Regions from separate parts of the Homo sapiens genome. Here regions 2, 3 and 4 are each linked to region 1. The links are contacts of gene promoters, found by promoter capture Hi-C in blood cells and fetal thymus (Javierre and others, 2016). All regions are on one chromosome and are shown on one strand. The core of a region is centred on a gene start or on the middle of the fragment in contact, and the rest is flanking DNA. Distances in the headings are between cores, read along the strand shown. Region 1 holds the start of C16orf89 (chromosome 16 open reading frame 89). Region 2 overlaps MGRN1 (mahogunin ring finger 1). Region 3 overlaps ANKS3 (ankyrin repeat and sterile alpha motif domain containing 3). Region 4 holds the start of SMIM22 (small integral membrane protein 22).

The links. Contacts are between HindIII fragments. The CHiCAGO score rates a contact against its expected background, and 5 or more counts as called.
Region 2: a fragment that was not itself captured here is called in contact with the fragment with the promoter of C16orf89 in region 1 in 1 of 17 cell types (erythroblasts); the score reaches 5.3 in erythroblasts.
Region 3: a contact is called between a fragment that was not itself captured here and the fragment with the promoter of C16orf89 in region 1, in 1 of 17 cell types (M2 macrophages). The highest score is 5.3, in M2 macrophages.
Region 4: a contact is called between the fragment with the promoter of SMIM22 here and the fragment with the promoter of C16orf89 in region 1, in 1 of 17 cell types (M2 macrophages). The highest score is 7.8, in M2 macrophages.

What each region holds. Positions count from the first base shown.
Region 1 is chr16:5,064,661-5,067,258 of GRCh38, reverse strand. It overlaps C16orf89 (chromosome 16 open reading frame 89), which reads left to right and starts at 1,303. Exons shown (of 8, transcript NM_001098514.3): 1 at 1,303-1,558. The coding sequence starts at 1,351. The HindIII fragment of the contact is 15,659 bases long and covers 1-2,598 here.
Region 2 is chr16:4,653,340-4,655,937 of GRCh38, reverse strand. The region is part of intron 4 of MGRN1 (mahogunin ring finger 1); the gene reads right to left. Among named protein-coding and RNA genes, the nearest start is that of MIR6769A, 17 kb to the left of the region's middle. RefSeq lists enhancers at 791-1,290, 1,291-1,792. The HindIII fragment of the contact is 6,090 bases long and covers 1-2,598 here.
Region 3 is chr16:4,724,136-4,726,733 of GRCh38, reverse strand. It overlaps ANKS3 (ankyrin repeat and sterile alpha motif domain containing 3), which reads left to right. Exons shown (of 18, transcript NM_133450.4): 5 at 1-75; 6 at 1,903-1,984. Among named protein-coding and RNA genes, the nearest start is that of ANKS3, 8.8 kb to the left of the region's middle. The HindIII fragment of the contact is 332 bases long and covers 1,123-1,454 here.
Region 4 is chr16:4,794,021-4,796,618 of GRCh38, reverse strand. SMIM22 (small integral membrane protein 22) reads right to left here and starts at 1,250. Exons shown (of 4, transcript NM_001253794.2): 1 at 1,170-1,250; 2 at 761-904; 3 at 571-671; 4 at 128-429. The coding sequence starts at 884. The coding sequence ends at 388. The HindIII fragment of the contact is 14,181 bases long and covers 1-2,598 here.

The DNA of each region.
Region 1 (2,598 bases), core at 54-2,553:
GACTTCCCAGCCTCCAGAACTATGAGCCAAATGAATTTCTTTTCTTTATAAATTACTCAGTCTCAGGTATTCTGTTGTAGTAGCACAAAACTAAGACACTGCCCAGTATACCAGCTACATGTGACTATCAAGCCCCTGAAATATGGATAGTCTGAATTGAAATGTGCTTAGCCTGGCATGGTGGCTTACATCTGGAGTGCCAGCTCCTTGGGAGGCTAAAGCGCGAGGGTCCCTTGAGCCTAGGAGCTCGAGACTGCAGTGAACTATGACCACATCACTGCACTCCAGCCTGGGCAACAGAATGAGACCCTGTCTCTTAAAAATAAAATAACAAAATAAAACAATTGTGTTGTGAACATAAACTACTCATCAATTTCAAAGACTTAGTATGACAAAAATAAAAACAAATCATTTCTATATTGATTACAGATGTAATTATAATATTTTAAATAACTGGGTCAAATAAACTAGATCGTTAAAATTAACTTCACCTGCTTATTGCTGCTTTCTTAGATGTGGCTACTAGGAAATTTCGAAATGCACACATGGCTCATCTTTGTAGCTCCAATTCTATTTCAATTGGACGGTGCCCCTTTAAGGAAGTTTGCCTCAGTTCAAGGCAGACGTGCCCTCAAATGAGTTTGTTTCAAATTTATTTAAAACAAAGCCTGGGTGTGGTGGCTCCAGCCTGTAATCCCAGCACTTTGGGAGCCCAAAGAAGGTGGCTCGCTTGAGGCCAGCGGTTCAAGACCAGCCTGATCAACATAGTGAGACCCTGTCTCTATTAAAAAAAGCTACAAAAATTAGGCAACATGGTGGCACATGCCGATTGTCCCAGCTATTCAGGAGGCTGAGGCAAGAGGATCTATTGAGCCCAGGAGGTCAAGGCTACAGTGAGCTGTGATCAAACCACTGCACTCCAGCCTAGGCAAGAGAATGAGACCCTATTTCAAAAAACAAAGAAAAAAAAATTCGTTTTGCTTTCAGAGCTTTTGGATTTCTGGGTTGAATTGCAATTGCTAGATCAAAGATCTAGCCTGTGAGCCTGGAGAATCAGGGCTGAGAAGGACAGGGCGGGCAGCCCTCTCCCCAGCATCCCGTGGACAGCAGGCTCTACGCCCAGGACTGGCCTAACCTCCGCTGCCTAACCGTCATCCCCCTGCAGCCACCCTTCCCAGAGTCCTTTGCCCAGGCCACCCCAGGCTTCTTGGCAGCCCTGCCGGGCCACTTGTCTTCATGTCTGCCAGGGGGAGGTGGGAAGGAGGTGGGAGGAGGGCGTGCAGAGGCAGTCTGGGCTTGGCCAGAGCTCAGGGTGCTGAGCGTGTGACCAGCAGTGAGCAGAGGCCGGCCATGGCCAGCCTGGGGCTGCTGCTCCTGCTCTTACTGACAGCACTGCCACCGCTGTGGTCCTCCTCACTGCCTGGGCTGGACACTGCTGAAAGTAAAGCCACCATTGCAGACCTGATCCTGTCTGCGCTGGAGAGAGCCACCGTCTTCCTAGAACAGAGGCTGCCTGAAATCAACCTGGATGGCATGGTGGGGGTCCGAGTGCTGGAAGGTGAGTGAGCCCCAATTCCTCTGGCTGGACACTGGGAAGCTAGCTCTCAGCTTTGTCCCCTGCCCTGCTCTGTACGCCTGGGACCTGGCAGACTCCTGGCCCCAGTATAGCCTGCCTCGGCTATAAGGAGAGAGGAGGCCAGGGGCTGGATCTTCCTGGCGGCTGTGGCCCAGCTAACTGTTACGCAATTTTTTAGAAGTAGGAAAGATTTAAAGGCAACATGGGAAGGGATTTGGGAATTATCTTTTTCTCAGAATGAAATGATCCATTTGACAGCCCCTCCTCACAACGCCACGAACAAGGGGAGCAGGGAGAGTGCCCCGTTAACAGATATTTGTGGGAAGACCCCTCCCCTTGAATGAGGTGGCTGTGGACAAAACTGAGGACCCTCAAGATCGGGTTCCCACCCCACTTCCTCCACTTGCAGCCAAAGTCTCCTGAAGGTTCTGCAAAAACAGTCAAGTGTTTGTTTAGCTTTGAGAGCTATAAGATCCCCAAGAAGGGGGCTGGAGACAGGCCAAGGTAAACACACACATGCGCACATCATGCACACACACACAAGCACACATGCACGCACGCACACACACATGCACATCACACACACAAGCACGCATGCACGCATGCACACAAGCATATCACACACACACACAAGCACACAGGTGGCTCCCACAGGGCTGGGTGCTTCCTGGGGCGCATGTGATAGCAAAAGCTGTAGTTCACTAAGTATCTGCTCAATGTGGGCACAACCCAGGTGCATTGCATGGGGTACTTCAGTGCCCTCTCCCCGTCATCCCTGAGGTTACACCCATTATTATTATCCTCTTTTAGCAAAGAAGGGAGGGGGTTCTCTTAATCATGACTGGGCAGCATTCACTGGGAAAGCGGCCCCACCTAACAGCCTCAGACCAGGGTCCCCACTCCTTGGCAGCTGCAGTGAGCCCGGCTTCTCCACCCACGCCACATCCCACATCCACTGCCCCTTCTCCTCTCAATAATCTTGCTCCATAACAGATTCCCTAGGAATTCAGTGCTTAATACAA
Region 2 (2,598 bases), core at 40-2,539, 410 kb after region 1:
GCCTCAGTAAAAGGCACAGTTAAGACGCCACCCTCAGGTGGACCCCAGCCTTCTCCTGTGAGATGCGGAGGCCTGGACACACCCCTCTGTCTGAGCCTCAGTTTCCTTGTCAGGAGGCAGGGAGGGTGGCTTGCCCTGCAGCTCAAATGGATGGAGCACTGGCAGGCTGGATGGTGTCCGGGTGCCTGGGCACAGCCTCCAGGTCCTGGAGCCTCCAGGTCCTTTTCTGTGATCCCTGCTGGGAGGGGAAGCTGGCCTTGCACCGCGTCCTGAGAGAGGGGGACAGTGGCACTGGAGCTGTTCCTGCTCTGTGATGCCTGCTGGGAGGGGAAGCAGGCCTCGTACCAGGTCCTGAGAGAGGGGGACAGTGGCACTGGAGCTGTTCCTGCTCTGTGATCCCCGCTGGGAGGGGAAGCAGGCCTCGTACCAGGTCCTGACAGAGGGGGACAGTGGCACTGGAGCTGTTCCTGCTCTGTGATTCCTGCTGGGAGGGGAAGCTGGCCTTGTGCCAGGTCCTGAGAGGGGGGGACTGTGGCATTTCTCTCATCACTAGCCCGCAGGGGTCTAGGAGAGGGTGACACCAGCCAGGGCTGGCAGGGCACCCTCTCTGCTCTCTCTAGCCTTTCTGGTAGCAGCGGGACCCTCTCTTCAAGTGCACTTGAGATGGTCACCCAGCCCCTGACAGCTGGAGCACTGGGGGGCAGCGGATAGACAACTTACACTGGCCTGTGTCCTCAGCCCACACCCTCTCTGTGGCAGCCCCTGGACACCTCGCCACAACCCAGCTCCTCCACCATGTCGGCCAGGCCCGAGGAGGGCACCAGGCCCCGTGGGTGTCAAACACTCAACCCCAAGCAGTGGGGTGCAAGGAGGGGACAGAGGGGCCTGCCCTGGTCACTCCAAATGCTCCTACGCCCAAGAATTCGACGCCTGTCATAGCACACAGGCATGCATTACTAGTGTCATTAAAGAAATATAATCAAGTGCCGGGGCAAGGTAGAGCCTCAAAGAACAAAGTCTAGAAAAAGGAACCTGTTCCTCCCCAAAGTGCTGCTCCACAGGAGGAGCCCTGGCTGCCGGGGAGCCCAAGGCCAGAGCCCAAGGGCGGCCTCACCTGGTGGCAGGTCCCTAAGAACCTCCCCACATAAGTCGTCTCCACCAGCCCCTCAACTCGAGCACTCAGGCTCCTTTCAAGAGCACCTGTCACGCGAGGGGCTGTGCACAGGACACATGGTCCCCTCCTCACACCACCCACCCGAACTTCCAGCTGAGGACACAGAGGCACAAGCAGTCATGTGCCCCCAAGCCACTCAGCGGGGACAGCATTCAAAGCCTAGGCTCTCAACCACACCCTATCCCCAGATGCAAAGCTGACCACTGAGCGGTGTGCTCCAGTGCAGGAAGGCAGGGGGCACGCTCTTGCCTGTCTCTAAAGCCACTTGGGGCACATGTGCCCTTGTAGCCTGGAGGCAGTCCTGCCAGCTCCTGCTGAAGTTGCAGTTTTCAAACTTTCAGGGCCAGAAGGACCCTTATCTCAAATAAAACCTCTGAAAGTACAAATATCTAATTATGACACAATAAAAAATAAATATTTGGTCCCAGCCCCAGTTCCTGACACAGAGTCCTCTAAAACCCTTGTCATTTCCTCAGCAACAGGGGTGCTAGGAGCCTCTTTTGTTCTAATATTTGTTCCTTGACCTTTGCTCCCAACACAGAACTCCAAACCCTTGGAATTTCCCGGGTGGTAGGAGTGTCTTATGTGCCAGTGAGGTGACTCTTGGCTCCTGGAGGTGGCTGGCTGCCAGAAAGACCAAGCCATGATTAGAGACTTGGAAGTGTCGTCTAAGAGCTCCCGAGGAAAAACAAACAAAAACCTGGGCCAGGTGGGCCGGGCATGGGGGCTCACGGCTGTAATCTCAGCACTTTGGGAGGCCGAGGCAGGTGGATCACCTGAGGTCGAGCGATTGAGACCAGCCTGACCAACATGATGAAACCCCGTCTCTACTAAAAATACAAAATTAGCCAGGCATGGTAGCATATGCCTGTAATCCCAGCTACTCGGGAGGCTGAGGCAGGAGAAGCACTTGAACCTAGGAGGCGGAGGTTGCAGTGAGCCAAGATCACACCATTGCACTCCAGCCTGGGCAACAAGAGCGAAACTCTGTCTCAAAAACAAACAAAAACCACTTTGGGAGGCTGAGATGGACAGATCATGAGGTCAAGAGATTGAGACCATCCTGGCCAACATGGCGAAACCCCCATCTCTACTAAAAATACAAAAATTAGCCAAGCGTGGTGGCACGTGCCTGTAGTCCCAGCTACTCAGGAGGCTGAGGCAGGAGAATTGCTTCAACTCGGGAGGCGGAGGTTGCAGTGAGCCAAGATTGTGCCACTGCACGCCAGCCTGGGCAGCAGAGTGAGGCTTCGTCTCAAAACAAAACAAAACAAAAACAAAACAAAAACCTGGAACTGAATTTCAGCCCAGCCCCATCCTCCAGGGAGGGGACAGGGGCTGGAGATGGAGTTAATCATCAATCCTGCCTACGTGATGAAGCCTCCAGAAAAGGCCCTGAAATGGGGTTTTCAGGAGAGCTTCTG
Region 3 (2,598 bases), core at 39-2,538, 340 kb after region 1:
CTTCCACTGTACCAGCGCCGGGCACCAGCACATGGTCAGGTTCCTCTTGGACAGTGGAGCCAATGCCAACGTGAGGTGATTGCCACATCTTTAGTGGCCACAGGAGTGGCCTAGGTGTCATCTGACTCTAAGGAGGGTGGCTCTGGAGGCAGCTAACCAGAGTTTAGGGCCACCCTGCTTCGGCACGAGAGGCTCAAGATGAGGGGTAGGACCAGAGTCCTTCCAGGCACAGGCCTTTTCGTACATCTGTGAGATGCATCTCTTCAAGCCCTCTCAGCTTCCTTTTCTTTATCTGAAACCCACCTGGGTCATACAGTTGTAAGAATTACATGTTTTATTGTATGCCAGGGGCCTAACATACTGAATGGCATTTAAATGTCATACATTACATGCAAATTCCTTCCATTTTCTTGCTTTTTGTATGGATGAGGTGAGGTGATGCTTTGAAACAGTCATGAGGCCGGGCGTGGTGGCTCACGCCTGTGATCCCAGCTCTTTGGGAGGCCGAGGTAGGCAGATCACGAGGTCAGGAGATCGAGACCATCCTGGCTAACATGGTGAAACCCCATCTCTACTAAAAATACGAAAAAATTAGCTGGGCATGGTGACGGGCGCCTGTAGTCCCAGCTACTCGGGAGGCTGAGGCAAGAGAATGGTGTGAACCCGGGAGGTGGAGCTTGCAGTGAGCCGAGATTGCACCACTGCACTCCAGCCTGGGTGACAGAGCAAGACTCCATCTCAAAAAAAAAAAAACAAAAACAACAGTCATGAGTTTTGGCCGGGCTCAGTGGCTCACACCTGTAATCCTAGCACTCTGGGAGGCCAAGGCGGGCAGATCATGAGGTCAGGAGTTCGAGACCAGTCTGGCCAACATGGTGAAACCCCGTCTCTACTAAAAATACAAAAATTAGCTGGGCGTGGTGGCAGGTGCCTGTAATCCCAGCTACTCGGGAGTCTGAGGCGGGAGAATCACTTGAAACCAGAAGGCAGAGGTTGCAGTGAACTGAGAGATCGTGCCACTGCACTCCAGCCTGAGCAACAAGAGCAAAACTCTGTCTCAAAAACAAACAAAAAACCAGTCATGAGTTTTATAAGTTGGAAGTGGGATTGTTGTCTAAAGCTTGTCATGATAATAATCACCTTTGAACAAACGCAGCGGGTACCAATGCAGCACCCACCCTGGCTGTCATTCATTCTAAGACACCTGATAATTTTGTATGCCACTAAGAAAGAAAAAATATGCTACTAATTAACATTCAACTCGCCTGTTGATTTAAAGATGTTTTCTGACTTGAGAGATGTTAAAATATGAACACTGTGTGTCTTAAGATGGATGAAAACCAGCATTTCCCATGCATGGTTCCTGACTTCCAAACCAGCATGAGACAAGGAGGGATTTGGAAGCCCTCTGAAGACAGTGCCGAGTTAGCATAACCAAGCATGAAAAGCAAGCTTCAGGAGCTAAGCGTGGCAAAGATAGCTTAGATCATTAGTACTTGAACTTTTCAGAGTGGGTTCATGGAGGACGTTGAACTTGAAGCCAGGATTTGGATGAATGGATGGGAGATGCTGGCTTTCTGTGAGGAATTAGAACAGCTTTTTGAATATGATTGAGGTGGAGATTTCAGAGGTAGCCAGTGGGAATAGCCAACAGGTGGGACGACAGGCAGACATCTGTCTTTAGGACAAAGACCAGCCCTGGGGACAGACACCAGAAGAGTAAATGGAGCTGATGTGTTATATTCACTGTTCTCATGTCACCTGTTAATTCTGGAAAGGGACAGTGTTCTACGCTTAGGGATCGGTGACTCGTGCACTGCTCAGGGTTTATCTTCAGCAGGGAGTTTTTGCCTGGCGGAACTTGTCTCTTCCAATCATCTGACTGTGGCCCACATCTTGCAGGGAGCCGATATGTGGATTTACTCCCTTGATGGAAGCAGCTGCTGCTGGCCATGAGATAATCGTGCAGTATTTTCTGAATCACGTAAGTGACCCTGATTATTAGCATGTAATGTAGTCACGGCAAATGAGGAATCATATTACTGAAGTATAAGCTATTACAGAATTTTCCTTTGCACAGAAATAACTTTCATTCATTTATTCAACACATTTTCATTATCTATTGACGCCCGGTGTTGAGTGGTGCTTAGGCATTAAGGATACAGTGGTGAGTAGAAATAGACACCTATTCCTGTAATAATTTTGAAAATACTATCTGAAAATTATGGAAAAATATTTTAAAAGTAAATAGCACTCATAATCCTGTCACTTAGAAAAATTATATAGAATAAGAAGGCAGAGATCCTCCTCTCTTTTTCAACCTCCCTGATGCCCACTTGGTTTGAGAAAGAGCTGCCCTAGGACTTTTCCTCTGCTGTGGAAAGATGTGTCTGTAGGCAAGTGTGTGCACATTGCTTTGTGTTTTGAACAAAGTGGGATTCTACGTATAGTCTGTAACTTAGAGACATCTTATAGACATCTTATCTTTGTACAGTATTCCGTGTACAATCTGCCTCAGTTAATTTAATGAGTTTCTTATTAGTAGAAACTTAGTTTTTAACATTTTGCAATTATAAACAGTGTTCCGGGAATATCCTT
Region 4 (2,598 bases), core at 1-2,500, 270 kb after region 1:
CAGCCTCCCGAGTAGCTGGGACTACAGGTGCCCGCCACCACGCCCGGCTAATTTTTTGTATTTTTAGTAGAGACGGGGATTCACCACGTTAACCAGGATGTTCTCGATCTCCTGACCTCGTGATCCGCCCACCTCGGCCTCCCAAAGTGCTGGGATTATAGGTGTGAGCCACCGCGCCCGGCCTGAGACCAGCTCCCCTCCCAGCTAGGTGACTGAGGATGACCTGGCACAGTCGTGCTGACTGAAGGCTTGGAGAGGCCAGGTGGCCACCTGAGTGGGGCGGCGAGTCCCGCGTCACCCACCCAGACGGGGACTGGAAGACACTGCAGACTCAGGCTCTGGGCAGACAGAAGGCTTTGTTACTGCCACCGGGCAGGAGACACAGGGTCAGGGTTCCAGGGCCAAGTTATCCACTCCCTTGGGTCTTTCCTGCACGAGAAGCACAGCGGGACCAAGCAGGTTCGCTCGTTGTTCCCTAGGGGGATGAGCACCCTTCCCGCCACTCCCCTCACCTTCCGCCTCCACCCCCAGTACAGTTCCGTGCAGGTCCCAGAGGCCGGCAGGGCTCACCTTCCAGGGGCTCACCTTCCTGGGGCTTTCCCTGCGGGGCCCGGGGGAGCTGCAGCAGCAGCAGTGGGCGACGACCAGCAGCAGCAGGAGCAGCACGGTGCCTGGGGACAGGACAGGCGTCCAGGTGTGGCCCCAACCTGGAGCCCAGGGCAGGGGGCTGGGAGGACCCAGAGGCCACAGCCACACTTACCCATGAAGGTGAGGAAAACAATGAAGGCAACAGTGTCCCATGTGGACTGGAAAAACTGGTGGCTCTTCAGTCTCCCCAGGACTTCCTGAACCGTGGCCTCCAGCTCCTCTGTGGACACAGCCATCTTGGCGTGCACCGTGCCACCTGCCCCGGTCCCCCAGAGGCTGCATCAGGATCCTGGGCTCAGCTCAGCGGGGACCACATCCAGGCTTCCCACAGCCCAGCCACTGCCCGCTCCTGGCCCAGCGCCAGCTTCCCCACCCCCTCCCACTCCACTTCTCCCTCGGCCCCAGGCCCAGCTTCTCTCCTTGCCCAGCCCTGTGGTCCTTACCCTGACAACCTTCTCCCCAGCCACTGTCATCTCCCCTCTCTCTCCCCCTGGCAGCCCAGCCCCCAGGCCCCCACCTACCTCCTAGAAGCCTCCAATTCCCCCAACCAGGCAGGTCCTGGGGAGCACAGGCTGCTTCCTGCTTCCGGCTCCACACCACCTGAGGCCTTGGCAACCAGCCCCGCCCTCCCCAGGGCCAGCAGAGGCCGCCCAGCCCAGGGGAGAGGGCCCAGGCCCAGCAGGTGCGCTCCCTGGCTCCCCACTGCTGGAGGCCCAGGGAGGAAGACGCCGGCCTGTGGCTTCTTCACTCCTGAGACTTCTTACCTTTCCTCAGTATCCCAGATATGCAGCTGGGAACACCTGTGTGCTTGGCCACTGCTGACTTCGTGAATGAAAGAGAGAGAGATGGGAGAGAAGGTGGGTGGGAGGGAGGGGGAAGGGGGAGAAAACCTACCTGCATCCCACGACCCTTGAGCAGCTAGGACAGGTGTGCCTGCATCATAGAGTTGTCCTTGGAATCCTCAACGATTGGTTCCAGCACCTCCGTGGGTACCAAAATCCACAGATGCTATAAACTCCCTGATATAAAATGAGGCAGTATTTGCATATAACCTGTGCATATACTCTATACTTTAAATCATCTCTGGATTACTTATAATACTTAATATATTTGGCCTGGCCTGGTGGCTCACACCTGTAATCCCACCACTTTGGAAGGCCAAGTTGGGCAGATCACTTACTTAGATCAGGAGCTTGAGACCGTCCTGGCCAACATGGCGAAACCCCACCTCTACTAAAAATACAAAAATTGGGCCGGGCGCAGTGGCTCACGCCTGTAATCCCAGCACTTTGGGAGGCAGAGGCGGGTCAGCTGAGGCCAGAAGTTTGAGACCAGCCTGACTGACCAACGTGGAGAAACCATGTCTCTACTAAAAATACAAAATTAGCCAGGCGTGGTGGCACATTCCTGTAATCCCAGCTACTAGGGAGGCTGAGGCAGGAGAATCACTTGAACCCGGGAGGCAGAGGTTGTGGTGAGCCGAGATCACGCCATTGCACTCCAGCCTGGGCAACAAGAGCAAAACTCCATCTCAAAAAAAAAAAAAGATAAAAATACAAAAATTGGTCGGGTGTGGTGGCTCATGCCTGTAATCCCAGCACTTTGGGAGGCCGAGGCAGGCGGATCACAAGGTCAGGAGATCAAGACCATCCTGGGTAACACGGTAAAACCCCATCTCTACTAAAAATACAAAAAATTAGCCGGCCATGGTGGCACGCGCCTATAGTCCCAACTACTCAGGAGGCTGAGGCAGGAGAATTGCTTGAACCCTGGAGGCAGAGATTGCAGTGAGCCGAGATCTCGCCACTGCACTCCAGCCTGGGTGACAGAGCAAGACTCCATCTCAAAAAATAATAATAATACAAAAATTACCCCGCTGTGGTGGCGGGCACCTGTAATCCCAGCTACTTGGGAGGCTGAGGCAGGAGAATCGCTTGAACCCAGGAGGCG